Regions from separate parts of the Homo sapiens genome. Here regions 1 and 2 are each linked to region 3. Evidence: promoter capture Hi-C in human tissues and cell types (Jung and others, 2019). All regions are on one chromosome and are shown on one strand. Each heading gives the region's core, a stretch centred on a gene start or on the middle of the fragment in contact. The rest is flanking DNA. Distances are from core to core; before and after follow the strand shown.

Evidence for each region. Contacts are between HindIII fragments. The study calls those that stand out against the background at their distance.
Region 1: a fragment that was not itself captured here is called in contact with the fragment with the promoter of GMPS in region 3 in 1 of the 25 tissues and cell types used here (aorta).
Region 2: a contact is called between a fragment that was not itself captured here and the fragment with the promoter of GMPS in region 3, in 1 of the 25 tissues and cell types used here (mesenchymal stem cells).

Annotation. Positions count from the first base shown.
Region 1 is chr3:156,541,338-156,545,504 of GRCh38, forward strand. It overlaps SSR3 (signal sequence receptor subunit 3), which reads right to left. Exons shown (of 5, transcript NM_007107.5): 4 at 2,971-3,102; 5 at 1-1,932. The coding sequence ends at 1,866. Among named protein-coding and RNA genes, the nearest start is that of SSR3, 12 kb to the right of the region's middle. The HindIII fragment of the contact is 4,353 bases long and covers 1-4,120 here.
Region 2 is chr3:155,327,366-155,331,537 of GRCh38, forward strand. No RefSeq gene overlaps it. Among named protein-coding and RNA genes, the nearest start is that of STRIT1, 36 kb to the left of the region's middle. The HindIII fragment of the contact is 5,967 bases long and covers 1-4,172 here.
Region 3 is chr3:155,867,833-155,872,020 of GRCh38, forward strand. GMPS (guanine monophosphate synthase) reads left to right here and starts at 2,818. Exons shown (of 16, transcript NM_003875.3): 1 at 2,818-3,065. The coding sequence starts at 3,039. RefSeq lists enhancers at 2,263-2,312, 2,852-3,611 and a silencer at 2,453-3,672. The HindIII fragment of the contact is 29,940 bases long and covers 1-4,188 here.

The DNA of each region.
Region 1 (4,167 bases), core at 694-3,193, 670 kb after region 3:
TTGATACACAAATTCCATGCCACCAGTCAAACTATGGTCTGGCTTTTTTTTTTAACCAACAGTAAAGAAAACTTTTTGGGTTTTTTTGTTTCTTTTTTGAGATGGAGTCTCACCCTTGCCACCCAGGCAGTAGTAGCACGATCTCGACTCACCGCAACCTCTGCCTCCTGGGTTCAGGCAGTTCTCCTGCTTCAGCCTCCCAAGTAGCTGAGATTACAGGCGCCCACCATCACGCCTGGCTAATTTTGGTATTTTTAGTAGAGACGGGGTTTCACCATGTTGGCCAGGAGTTCAAGAAAAGTTTTTTAAAAATAATAAACCTCTAAAGTGTTACCCTAACTGTACCTTACAGTGATATGTGACTTCTCTAGTCACTCCACATTATCCAGTGATGGCACCTAGATAATAATGCACCAAAGAAAAGTAAAGAATTGCAGACTTCTAGAAGCAATGATGAAATATAATTCTCAGTTGCAGAAAATGATGATCTGGGTCATTATGCAAATGCATTCCTGCCTGTTTTTCTTCCAAGTTCTTGCATGGAGCCCAACACATCCGATAGCATGGAAGTGGAAGTTAAACTCCCGATGAATAATTTTTATAAAATTATAAAGAAAACAACTAATAACATGTATGAAATTCACATTAAATTTAGAAGTGGATAGTAAAGATTAGGACTATATTTCCTTTGGGGTGCTGCTTGTAGGAAATTACTGAATGACAACTGCTATCACCTGTGATTTCATATCCTTTTAGCTGATATTGCTAAAGAGCTTCCCAAACTTTTTCAAGTCATGGCATACACAAGAAATGATATCTGTACATACACGGGTAAAAAAATGCAAGAGATTGCTCTCAGCTGGATCCCCAAGGGCTAAAGAGATAAATATCTTGCTCACAATCAATGGGAACCTGTGAACTAAAGAGTCAAATGTATGAAAGTCCTCATGGAAAAATGCTGACAAGCACTAAAATCACTGTAAATTCCTTGGAGAGTTCTCAGAATTGCAGAAGTTCAGAAAAATTACTTTGGTCTTTTACATGTCAATATTCAGGAAAGAGGTTCTTTCTCTTACTTAACATTCCTCCAGGGTGTGAGACCCTGGTCAAGGAAAACAGTGATTCCTGTGTCTTAGTAAGTCAAACCAACATGGCAGGGTCAAGTTGACCTCCCTGGCCACTCAGGGCCAAAGCCATACAGTGGAACAGTGTGTTCTTTAACCTCGTAGGACAACTCTCATATGCCTGGGCACTATTTTTAGGTTACTACCTTGGCTGCCCTTCTTTAAGAAAAAAAAAAGAAAAAAAAAGAACTTTTCCACAAGTTTCTCTTCCTCTAGTTGGAAAATTAGAGAAATCATGTTTTTAATTTTGTGTTATTTCAGATCACAAATTCAAACACTTGTAAACATTAAGCTTCTGTTCAATCCCCTGGGAAGAGGATTCATTCTGATATTTACGGTTCAAAAGAAGTTGTAATATTGTGCTTGGAACACAGAGAACCAGTTATTAACTTCCTACTACTATTATATAATAAATAATAACAGCTCGGCCCAGGTTACTGTGACCTCTGACAGATCAAGGAAACAAGTTATTTTCTCCTCTTGTGATTACAGCACATTGCAAGACATTTTTTTCCTTTTAATAAACGTCCTAGTACTCTGAGTTTCCCTTTCAATTCATTTAATTTCAACAATCTGTCAAAAAACAGCCAATAAACAAATACTGAATTACATTCTGCTGGGTTTTTTAAAGGCTCTAGACTATAAAAACATCTTGTGTCTCCCACCCTGACCACCCTGCTACTTTTCCATATACCACAGGCCACCCATAGACACAAAGCCAGGGGGTGAAGCTGACATGGTCTATTTGGAGCCAGTAGACAGGAGGGCGATGAGTCCTGATGAAGCACTTATGGACAATATGTAGTTCCTGTAAGAAATTTAATGTTATGGAAAAATGAGTAACTCCAAATTGGTTTTTTGAGAAAATAAAGAGCCCATCTCTTTGGAATGTACTGCTTCCTTCCTGACACTTGGTGTAATCATAATGATGTGCAGCCCCATTGTCTGCAAACACAATTTGCAAGACAGAAGACCAAAAAAAAATGGAAAACATTCACAGGAAATGTGTTCCAATTTAAAAAAAACACTTTAGACAGAAACCTAGAACACATGATCACAAAGAATAATCTGAATTCCATTTAACCTTCACGAAGAGCTGATCAAAGAACATGGAGAGAAAAGAGATTTGTTTTCCTTTTCTTCCCCTAAGAGCAATGGAAAAATAAGTCTTCCCTGCAAATCAGTGTTTTGCTGCAGTTGGCTTGCAACAGCAAGGAGGTTCTAAAAGTTCGAAGCTACTCCTAGCCTCAGAACTCTACAATTTTCAGCAAATCACTCCAGCATTCCCAGAAGGTACACGTTGGAGGGTATCTGATATTTTATTACATCATAATCACCAATTGTTAAAATCTTGGCTGCACATTCCTGGATAACATCTTTAATAAATTAATAAGAGAAGACTGATTCTTGCCCAAAAGCTCAACTTAACAGCAGCTTGAAACACTATTAAGATACACTGGAATGAACCTATTTAACTGCATTGGCCATCCACCCAACCCCCAGAGCCCAAAAATAACAGGTACAGGGGCTTATTATTTCAGAAGCTATCAAAAATGACAGGTTTGCTTTGGCTCTTTGGAGCTTTTTTTTAAGGAGGCAAGGACACAGATTCCCATAGACTACTTTGTAATACTTTATCATACAGTCATAATTCATAAACTTAAAAGAATCTTAAACCAATAGCTGTTATTTTAAATGTCCAGAAAGTTATCTAAAGTCAGCACTATTTAATGGACTGACTCCCAGAGCAGTTTTTCTTTCCACTAAAATATCCAGACAAGTCAAAACCAAAATGAACTACTGTTTCTTGACTTCTAAAAAAGATAATCAACCTTGAAAAGGATACACTGTGGGGTTGAAGTTCTTCAATATGAAGAAGGAAGCAACAATGACCACGACCAGGAACAGAGTGTTGTTATAGAAGATGGAAAATGTTGTAGCTTCATAATCAGCAACTTCATTCTTCTTCCACAAGATTCTACAGACACAGAAACAAGTCAAACAAGCTTATAAATATGATTTAAAAAAACTTTTAAGTACCATATGGCTCTAGTTCATCATAAAACAAGTTTTTCCTTGAGTGTTCTAGGGTAAGAATGTGTTTGTAATATTAGATTTAGTCAGAATTGTCCCCTTTCTTCCACTGAAAAAAAATATGTCACTCTATGATAGTGAAGAAAACATCATGCTGGTTATGTTACCATTTTTCCCAGGCAACCAGGGTTATGGAAGAAAGGACTCATTAATGGCAACCCGCACGGTTTCATCAGCAGCTAAGTCAAATATCTTTCTCTTGGCCCTTACCTAAAACTCAAACTCCATGATTAGCAGCCTGTGGAGTTTCCTTGGCTATACCTTGGGCTTGAGGCTTTCTACAGCCTACGGATTTCAGACTTCAATATCACACCTTCAGAAGACAATCCCAATGACAAAAATTACCTGTGGTCTCACAGAAGTAGGCTATTGTTAGCCATCTTTATTAATTCAAACAAAAAAAGAGCGCTTAATCATTAGGAGGACTTTTTAATGCCTGTAAAATCCTTCTACTTTTTATTCTATTTTACTTGTTCTGATAGTTTATCTTATTAATTTACTGGTATTTCATCCATCTTTTCTTTTACCCCTTCACACATGCAAAAGGAAGTTATAGGATGCCTGTGAATAAGGGAGCCTTCATTCTTGTTGGTTAATTAACTTTGTAAAGCAGTTTTTAAAAGGGTAGGTTGTGACCCATTAGTGGGATGTGAACTCAATCAAGTGGATCGAATGCCCATAGAAATTAATTGAGTTGAGACCAGCATTTTAAAAAAATGAAATAGGAAAGAATAGAAAAACATCAGCAGCACATCGCACAGAGTAGGATAATTATCGTTTTATGAAACATGTGCATGTGTCCACGTGTGAGTTTATCTGGTCAAAAGGTAAAATACATATTTTTTACTGTAGGTCATTATCAAAAAGGTTGAAGGCCACTTTGTAGACACTTTGTCTCCCAAAAAGATAAACCTACTCTGGAGTCAGATGACACATCCCCTCAACCCTA
Region 2 (4,172 bases), core at 744-3,243, 540 kb before region 3:
CACCCTTCGTAAAACAGGAAATAGCATGGATTTTTTTCTTCAATGTCTCTAATAATCTTCTGTTGTGTTAGGTAAAAGATAGGGTGGAGTAGATCTAAGGGAACCATCCCTCAAGGGTCCAGTCCCACTTTACACCCTTACATAACAGCAGAAACCCAAAAGGACCAAAGCATGCAGGGAACAAGCCAGTAGCTTTTTCTACTACCTTATTCATACCCCCTCCTGCTCCCTGGTCCCCTGCCTCTGGAAGATAACCAGGGCCTGTGTCCCCTCCACTCTCCAAGCTCTCAAACTCTGCCCTCCAGAAAGGCTTGGACTTAATCCTCTGATTACTATCCAGGTGTAAACACCCCCACCCACAAAAAAAAAAATTCTAAGCCCCACAACCAACTAAATGGATGCCTCCTCTCCGCCAAGGGGATTTCAAAGATTAGTTAAAACTAATTTTAATTAGTTTTAATTAGATTAAAAACAGTAGTTCAGGCCACAATGGGAAGGGGAGTGGGACAGGCCTCATTATTTTCTCCTGCCTTTGGAATTCAGACAGAACCGACCAGCATTAACAGCAAAACAGAGATCTTAAGACTGACATAACAGACTCTTTGTAGAATAAGATAGCGAATTCCAACCTAAGTCTAGCATAGCATCATATGACAAATAGCAGGCCCTGAAAGTATCAAAGTATTTTATCCCAAAATATATTTCTTTGACATATTTTGAAATAGCCCTGCAAAGCTGCCTCTTGTGGGGAAAATCTACATTCTGTAGAAAATCCCCTTCCCTTTCTAGGTCTTTTCCTAATCCAGGAGAGGTTTAACTAAGAGTCTGGCACCTTTAAATTCTGGTGAGAGACATTTACCATCTATTCTCTCTGAAGCCTGCTACCTGGAAGCTTCATTTATATAACAAGAACCTTGATCTCCACATTCTCTTATCTTAACCCAGACACTCCTTTCTATTGATTCCACATTTTTAGACAATAACTTAAGTCTTTCAACCACTTGCCAATCAGAAAATCTTTGACTCCACCTATGACCTGTAAAGCCCACCCCCACCTCTACTTCAAGTTGTCCCACCTTTTCCTACCAAACCACTGTACACCTTACATGTATTGTTACATGTATTGATTGATGTCTGCCTGTAACTTCTGTCCCCCTAAAATGTATAAAATCAAATGCAACCCAACAAACTTGGGCACGTGTTCTCAGTACCTCTTGAGACTGTGCCTCAAGCCATGGTCACTCACATTTGGCTCAGAATAAGGCTTCAAATATTTTACAGAGTTTGGCTTTTTTCATCAACACAGGTGTCATTTAATCTCAGTTCCTTGGTTTCCTTACCTGTAGAATATATACCTTAAAGAAATGTCAAGAGGAATACATGAGACAATGTTTATAAATTCAGTGATAGACCGTACTGTATGTCAATGATTTTTAAGTGAGGTGTCCTGTATACATTTAGGAAATGTTGTCTAGCACACAACCATTCTTTAGTCCCATCTCCACCATCACCTTAGAGTTGCTGTGTTTTATGCTATTATGTAAGTTAAGCATTAACATGGGTGAAAATGATTTATAAAATGTAAAAACCTATGCAAATGTGATATTGCTAATAGTTTATGTACTGTGAGGTGTTACTCTTCCTAAGGGATATTTGCATTTTATTTGGAGACAAAAATCTTAAGCTAAAATTGATGCCTAATAAAGTTGGAAATTTACACGCCAGTCTAACATGTTGGGGAAAGAAAATGCAGGAAGGGTGGATGATCTCCTCAGTGTCCCCTCAAAACATTCTAGGTAGGAAGAGTAAATAGACTTTATAACTCTCTATATATAAAAGCAACACAGAGTGGCAACACAGGCCCTGGAGGTCTGGAACAGGGCCATGATATATGCAATGAAGAATTAGATACCTTCTGAAAAACAACTCCTGCTTTGCTCTTGAGCTCCAGGAGGGAAGGAATGCTTGGCCATGGAGCACCAAGAAACCATGAATCCAGAGCTTATCACCATGTGCTTGGTACTATCAGAGCTACCAAATCAGAAACAGAGTTTGTTTCTAGAAAAGGAACTCTGGTCTGTGTGTAAGTAATTAGAGGGTTACTTGGAGAGATAGACGAGTTAGTTGCAGAGACAGATGGGTCCAAACAATTCCTCATAAAAATAGGATGCTACACTTGATCTTAGTCAAAAGGCCAAGAGGTAATTACGTTTGTCAATGTAGGTTCATAAGTTATAACAAATGTACTACTTTGTAGAGGTGTTGATGGTGTGGGAGGCTGTGCGTTTGCAGGGGCTGAGGGCGTTTGGGAACTCTCTGTACCTTCTGCTCAATTTTGCTTTGAACCTTAACTGTTCTAAAAAATAGGCTTTTTTGTTAGATTTACAAATTAGTCTTTGTGCATCTCAGGCCCCCTTGTATCTCCAGCATCACACCCGTAGGCACGCGTGTGCAGGCACCCTCATAATCTCAATCACAGGGTGCTGAGCCTGCTTCCCTCTCAGATTTGCTCTCCCCTCAGGCAATTGGGAAGGGATGATGCACTTTGAGTTTAAGGATCAGAATAATTCACTATCAAAGCATCCAAATTTTATACCAGAAGTGTAGTCTGGGGAGGCCAGAGAAGAGATGCAGCTGAAAAAGAATCACATGACTGGAGAGGGGCAGACCCAGCTGAAATCCATGCCTCCTTATTCCTGCCACCCCACACACCACACTGCAGCCTGGTGGCATCTGGTATTTAGTCTTGGGTCTAGGGCAAATACGAGTGCCAGCGGAATTAGTCATATAAGCTGTTTGAAGGTGAGGGGCTTCAGTAAATTATGCCTATTTGGAGTTAATGCAGTACTGATTCCAGCAGATAGCAATGAAGGACTTCCTAATTCCTACACAAGGTTGAGAAACCCAGTATAAGCTCTTAAATCATAAAATGGTTTTTGTTCTGATCTAATATAAATAGTTTTGTTCTGATCTAACTTTTTTACAGTATCATTGTTCAGGTACAAGAAAAAAAATAAGGCCCTGGTCCTTCCCTTCTGAATGACATTTTTCCCTCTTTGACAATAAAAGATCTGAAATTCAAGTTTATTAATTCATTTGACAAAAATGTGTTCTGCTCTTGTCTGAGCAGGCTCAGAGGAGGCTGCTGTGGGAGGATATTGAGGACAACAGGACATGATGTCCCATCAGATAAAAACTGAAGAGTCTGGTTTATCCATGCAGATACATTCAAAAACAGTTCAACAACCAGATTTTCAAGATAATGGGTTTTTAACAAGACTTGCTTACTTTTGACTCTAAATCTGAAGACTTAACAAAATCATGAAGGTGACTGGATTATGCAATTCTCAGATCTGGCTGAGTTTTTTCAAAACCCTCATCCAGATATTTTGAATTACTAGACCAAAATAGGGGCTGAGATATATCTAGTTTTAATCTCCCCAGTGAATTTCATAAATGTGCTGTCAGGTTTGGGATCTTCTGATGATCTTTGATGTCTCTTCCAATACCAAGGGCCCTTGCTACTGTGAAACACCTTCCAGGGCAACAGAACCAACTCGTACTGGGCCGCTTATCTGCTCAGCTGAAGCCAGAGCGGAGAGTCATGAGAGTCATGAAAGCAGTATATTTGAAAATAAACATGGGCTTTTTATTCTGCACATAGATCTTGAAATGTATAATGTATACACATGTGTATACAAACATTAGTAATATATATCAACCAAAGGTGGTAATCAATATGAAGATTAGAAAATGCTATCGATGCCATTTCCAAAAGTGATCCACTATTTCAGTCTTTCAGAAACCAACATATGGAGCAAATTAATTTTTGAGGAAACACCAACATTTATCATTATCAAACAGAAATCAACATGACACATAATATTGTTCATCTGTTTCACTTGTAAGCCATGAGAACACTGAGAATTGGCATATATTCCATTTTCAGAGAGCCAATTTAAGTCCCAACCAGACAGCACAAAGCTCTGTAACTTACATGGAAATATTTATTAAAACAGTCAAGGGTAACACGCTTAAGGATGAAAGTAACCCTACAGATGATACCTTCTTGTCATCTGCTCATAGCCATATTCCCCTGGATCTGTGCTTGTCAATTCAAGATTGCTAAGTTCCAATAAGTTATTTGTTTGTTTTGATGGAAATACCTGGGA
Region 3 (4,188 bases), core at 1,568-4,067:
AATAGCCACAGAGAAAGCATTTGACAGCATCCATTCTTGACCAAAACTCTCAGCAAAATAGGAACAGAAGGAAACTTCCTCAACTTGATAAAGGGCATCTATGAAAACCTACAGGTTATTGGTGAGAGACTGAATGTTTTCTCCCTAATAAGTGTCAGTGAGTAGCCAGGTATGATGGTTGGGGGGGGCCTGTAATCCCAGCTACTCGGGAGGCTGAGGCAGGAGAATTGCTTGAACCCAGGAGGTGGAGGTTGCAGTGAGCTGAGATTGTGCCACTGCACTCCAGCCTGGGCAACAAGGGCGAAACTCCATCTAAAAAAAAAAAGAAAAATAAAAAGTGAGTGTCAATAAGAAGTTTGGGAAAGAAGTTTTGTTTTGAACTTGTTGAGTTTGGGGCCTAATATGACACTGACAATTGAACTGAGGATGAATATAGTTATCTGGGTCTGGAGCACAGAACAGAGTTGTTAAAACATAGAGCATATTAAGGGTATTTTAACAAGTCCGTATTTTATTTATTTATTTATTTTGAGGTGGAGTTTCACTCTTGTTGCCCAGGCTGGAATGCAGTGGCACGATCTTGGCTCACTGCAACCTCCACCTCCCAGGTTCAAGAATTCTCCTGCCTCAGCCTCCCAAGTAGCTGGATTACAGGTGTCCACCACCACACCTGGCTAATTTTTTGTATTTTTAAGTAGAGACAGGGTTTCACCATGTTGGCCAAGCTGGTCTCGAACTCCTGACCTCAGGTGATCCACCTGCCTTGGCCTGTCAAAGTGCTGGGATTACAGGTGTGAGCCACCGCACCTGGCCAACAAGTCTGTATTTTTAAACAAGTGCTCCAAGGAAGAGTAAGATGAGAAAAGGATTAGGAATAGAAATACTGAAGAAATCCAACACTTAAAGCTCCTGAAGGCCAGACATAGGAAAAGGAGCTAGCAAAGGCAACCAAGAGCAATCACAGAGATAAAAAGACAACTTTTTGGTGCATTTTAAGGAAAATCCAGTTTCAACAAAGAGGGATGGGTCAATAGAGTCAGAAGCTAAAGAAGAAAGAATATCAGGATCCTATATTGTGTGCATGCCAACATTCTTAGCCATTAAGCACAGGTGACCACTAGAATTTATTTATTTATTTGTTTATTTTGAGATGGAGTTTCGCTGTTGTCACCCAGGCTGGTGTGCAATGGCATGATCTTGGCTCCCTGCAACCTCCACCTCCCGGGTTCAAGCGATTCTCCTGCCTCAGCCTCCCGAGTAGCTGGGATTATAGGCGCATGCCACCACGCCTGGCTAATTTTTGTATTTTTAGTAGAGACAGGTTTCATGATGTTGGCCAGCCTGTTCTGGAACTCTGACCTCAGGTAATCCACCCGCCTAGGCCTCCCAAAGTGCTGGGATTACAGGTGTGAGCCACCACGCCCAGCCTAGAATATATTTAAACTAAGCATTGTTTAAGATAGATGGGACTTAGCCAATCCTTAATGCCAGTATATCACATCACATTCCACTCCATTAGGGGTGGATGTTTATGTAAGTTGAGGTTCTCCTATTGGTTACTGCACTCTTCTTTAGATTGTGCATACAGACCTACCCAGAGAAGCCAGTATCCATGGCTTTGGAGAGTTCAAATATTCAATTTTCCGTTCAAAAAAAGGTAAGCGAAATACTTAAGTCTCAGGCCCACTAGGACCTTAAGCCTTTCGTTTTTGTAAATATTTCACTAATAAACTGTCTACACTTTCCCAGATTGGGCAGGCCTTACATTCTATATATACTGAGAGGCACATTATCTCACTAAGCCTCAATTTCCTCATTTGTAAAAAGGATAAGAACATCAATCCTACCTTACTACTTTCACGGGATTGGTTAAAGTTAGCTTTTAAAGTATTTTCTCACTCTGGCTCCTTAATACCCTAGCTACAGTCTGACACAAGAATGACTGCAGCAAAATGTTGGCTGTATTATAATAAAAATATTTGTGGAAAGGCTTTGTTAGCTGGAAGCCATCTCAAGTATTATTCTTTATACCCCAATCTCGATTTAGGCCTCTAGGTAACCAAATTCAAAGTAACACCTCATCATCATGATGGTTGCCAAGGGGTAGGTGGAGGGACTGCAGCCCCTTCCCCACAAACAATTCCAATAAAAACACTGTTGTGCAAACAGAGCTTCACGACCAGTTCCCTGGGCCAGCTGCTCACCAGATTACCACTCCCAAACTCCCTTTTCTTTGGAAATACTGCACCTGCTGTATTTGTGGGGAGCTGTATAACTTTTGAAGTATCTAAGTGATCAGTTCCTACAATGACATCCTTGAGATATGGCCACGGAACTTTCCAAAGCAGCCTTGGCCTCCTTCATGTCCAGCAACCTGAGATAAGGCCACGCCACCGGCTAAGAGTTCCGCCAGGGGCCCAGCTCTCAGGAGGCCTCTTCGGTGCCGCCAGCCTCCCGAAGTCATCCAAGGTAGCAGGCAAATCCGGCAGCAGCAAACTAGCTCGGATTCGGCTTCGGTTTTTCTCCTGGCCGGCGCCACAGGCCCCTCCTCCGGGGCGGGCTCCTCGGTGCGAGGGCAGGAGGGGCGGAGCCGGTGGATGCCGCGGGCTCCTCCTCCCAAGGGCGGGCCGCGGGAGACCCGGCCGGCTTTGCCGGCGGGGACCGGGCTGGGGGCGGGGCCGGGCGCCGCGAGCCCCTCCTCTCGAGGGCCGGCCGGTTTGGCGGCGGCTGCGGAGGGTATCTGAGGCTCGGCTGCCAAGCCGAACGGGCTCTGGCTCCTCCCAGTGGCCGGCCGGGGCGGAAGCAGGAGGCGGGGGCAGCGTGCGCGCTGCTGGTCTTCTCTCCCGCGGCGCTGGGGCCCGCGCTCCGCTGCTGTTGCTCCATTCGGCGCTTTTCTGGCGGCTGGCTCCTCTCCGCTGCCGGCTGCTCCTCGACCAGGCCTCCTTCTCAACCTCAGCCCGCGGCGCCGACCCTTCCGGCACCCTCCCGCCCCGTCTCGTACTGTCGCCGTCACCGCCGCGGCTCCGGCCCTGGCCCCGATGGCTCTGTGCAACGGAGACTCCAAGGTCAGCGTGGGGGTCCCTGCAGCACCGCATCCCGGCGGAGGCGAGGCTCCCGGACCGGGGAGCCACCCCGCGAGGCCCTTCCCCACCCCCTTCCCCCAGCCCGTCCGCGCAGCCCTGCGCCCCGGGCAGCCACGCGTCGTAGAGTCCCTGGTCGGGGCCTGTGGCATGTTTTATCTCGGGAGCGGCGATGCTTTGTTGATCTTGTCTGCGTGTCGAGGTCCGGGCGTCGGGGAGGGCATCAGCTCCCCGCGGCCGCGTCGCTGGCCCCCGCCTCCCCCGCGCCGCTGTGGGGCGCAGAGCCCGCGAGCGCGGCGCGAGGGTGGGGGTAGGGCGGCGAGCGGGCTTGTGTGTCTGCGTGTCGGGGTGGGGGCTTCCTCGGCTCCCACCCCGTCCCTCTGGGAGGCTGGGGGCCCGTTGTGGCGATCCCGGGGCCCGCCGAAGGCAGGGCAGGGTCGGGGCCTCCTGTGCGGCGTTGGAGCTGGGCCGGCCTCTGGTCTTCCCGCCACCCCGTTTCCCGCCTGCCCTCGGCGAGGCCCGCTCCATTCCCCCCGCCAGCCTTGGGCTCCGCGGCGGTTAGGCCGGTTCTGGACGAACCCCTCGGAGCTGCACTGTCTTCCCCCTCCCCCAACGCCCCTGCAGGCCCGCGTGAGGGCTGGTGGCCCCAGGGTCGCGCACTCCGTTCTCCCTCCCCGCTTCCTTCTCAGAGAGGAAAGGGTGTGTGTCCAGGTCCCGCCCCCGTCCAGCTTGCTCCCTGTCGAGCTTGCTGGTTTGCGGGGTAACCCGCTTCCCCGCCTTTGGGGTCCCTCCCCGGGACGCGAGCCGTGCCAGCTCGCCCGAGGCCTGGGCAGTCCGGAGTTCCGGAGTGCTGGAAAAGTTGCCGCCTTGACGTACCCGGCGGGGAGAGCACGTTTGACCGCTGCTGCTCATCTCTCCTCCAACTCACTTTTCTTAGACCGTTCCTCTTACTTTCGTCCCGCTTTTGAATTGGGCACCTTCGCTTTCACCTCTGTATTAAAATTTTCATTGGCCTGGAGTTCTTTCTGACCTTCACTAAGTCAGTTTTGCCAGCGGGAAACCGTGCAGTTTTGAATTGCGATTTACTTCATTAAGATACACCTCCTCT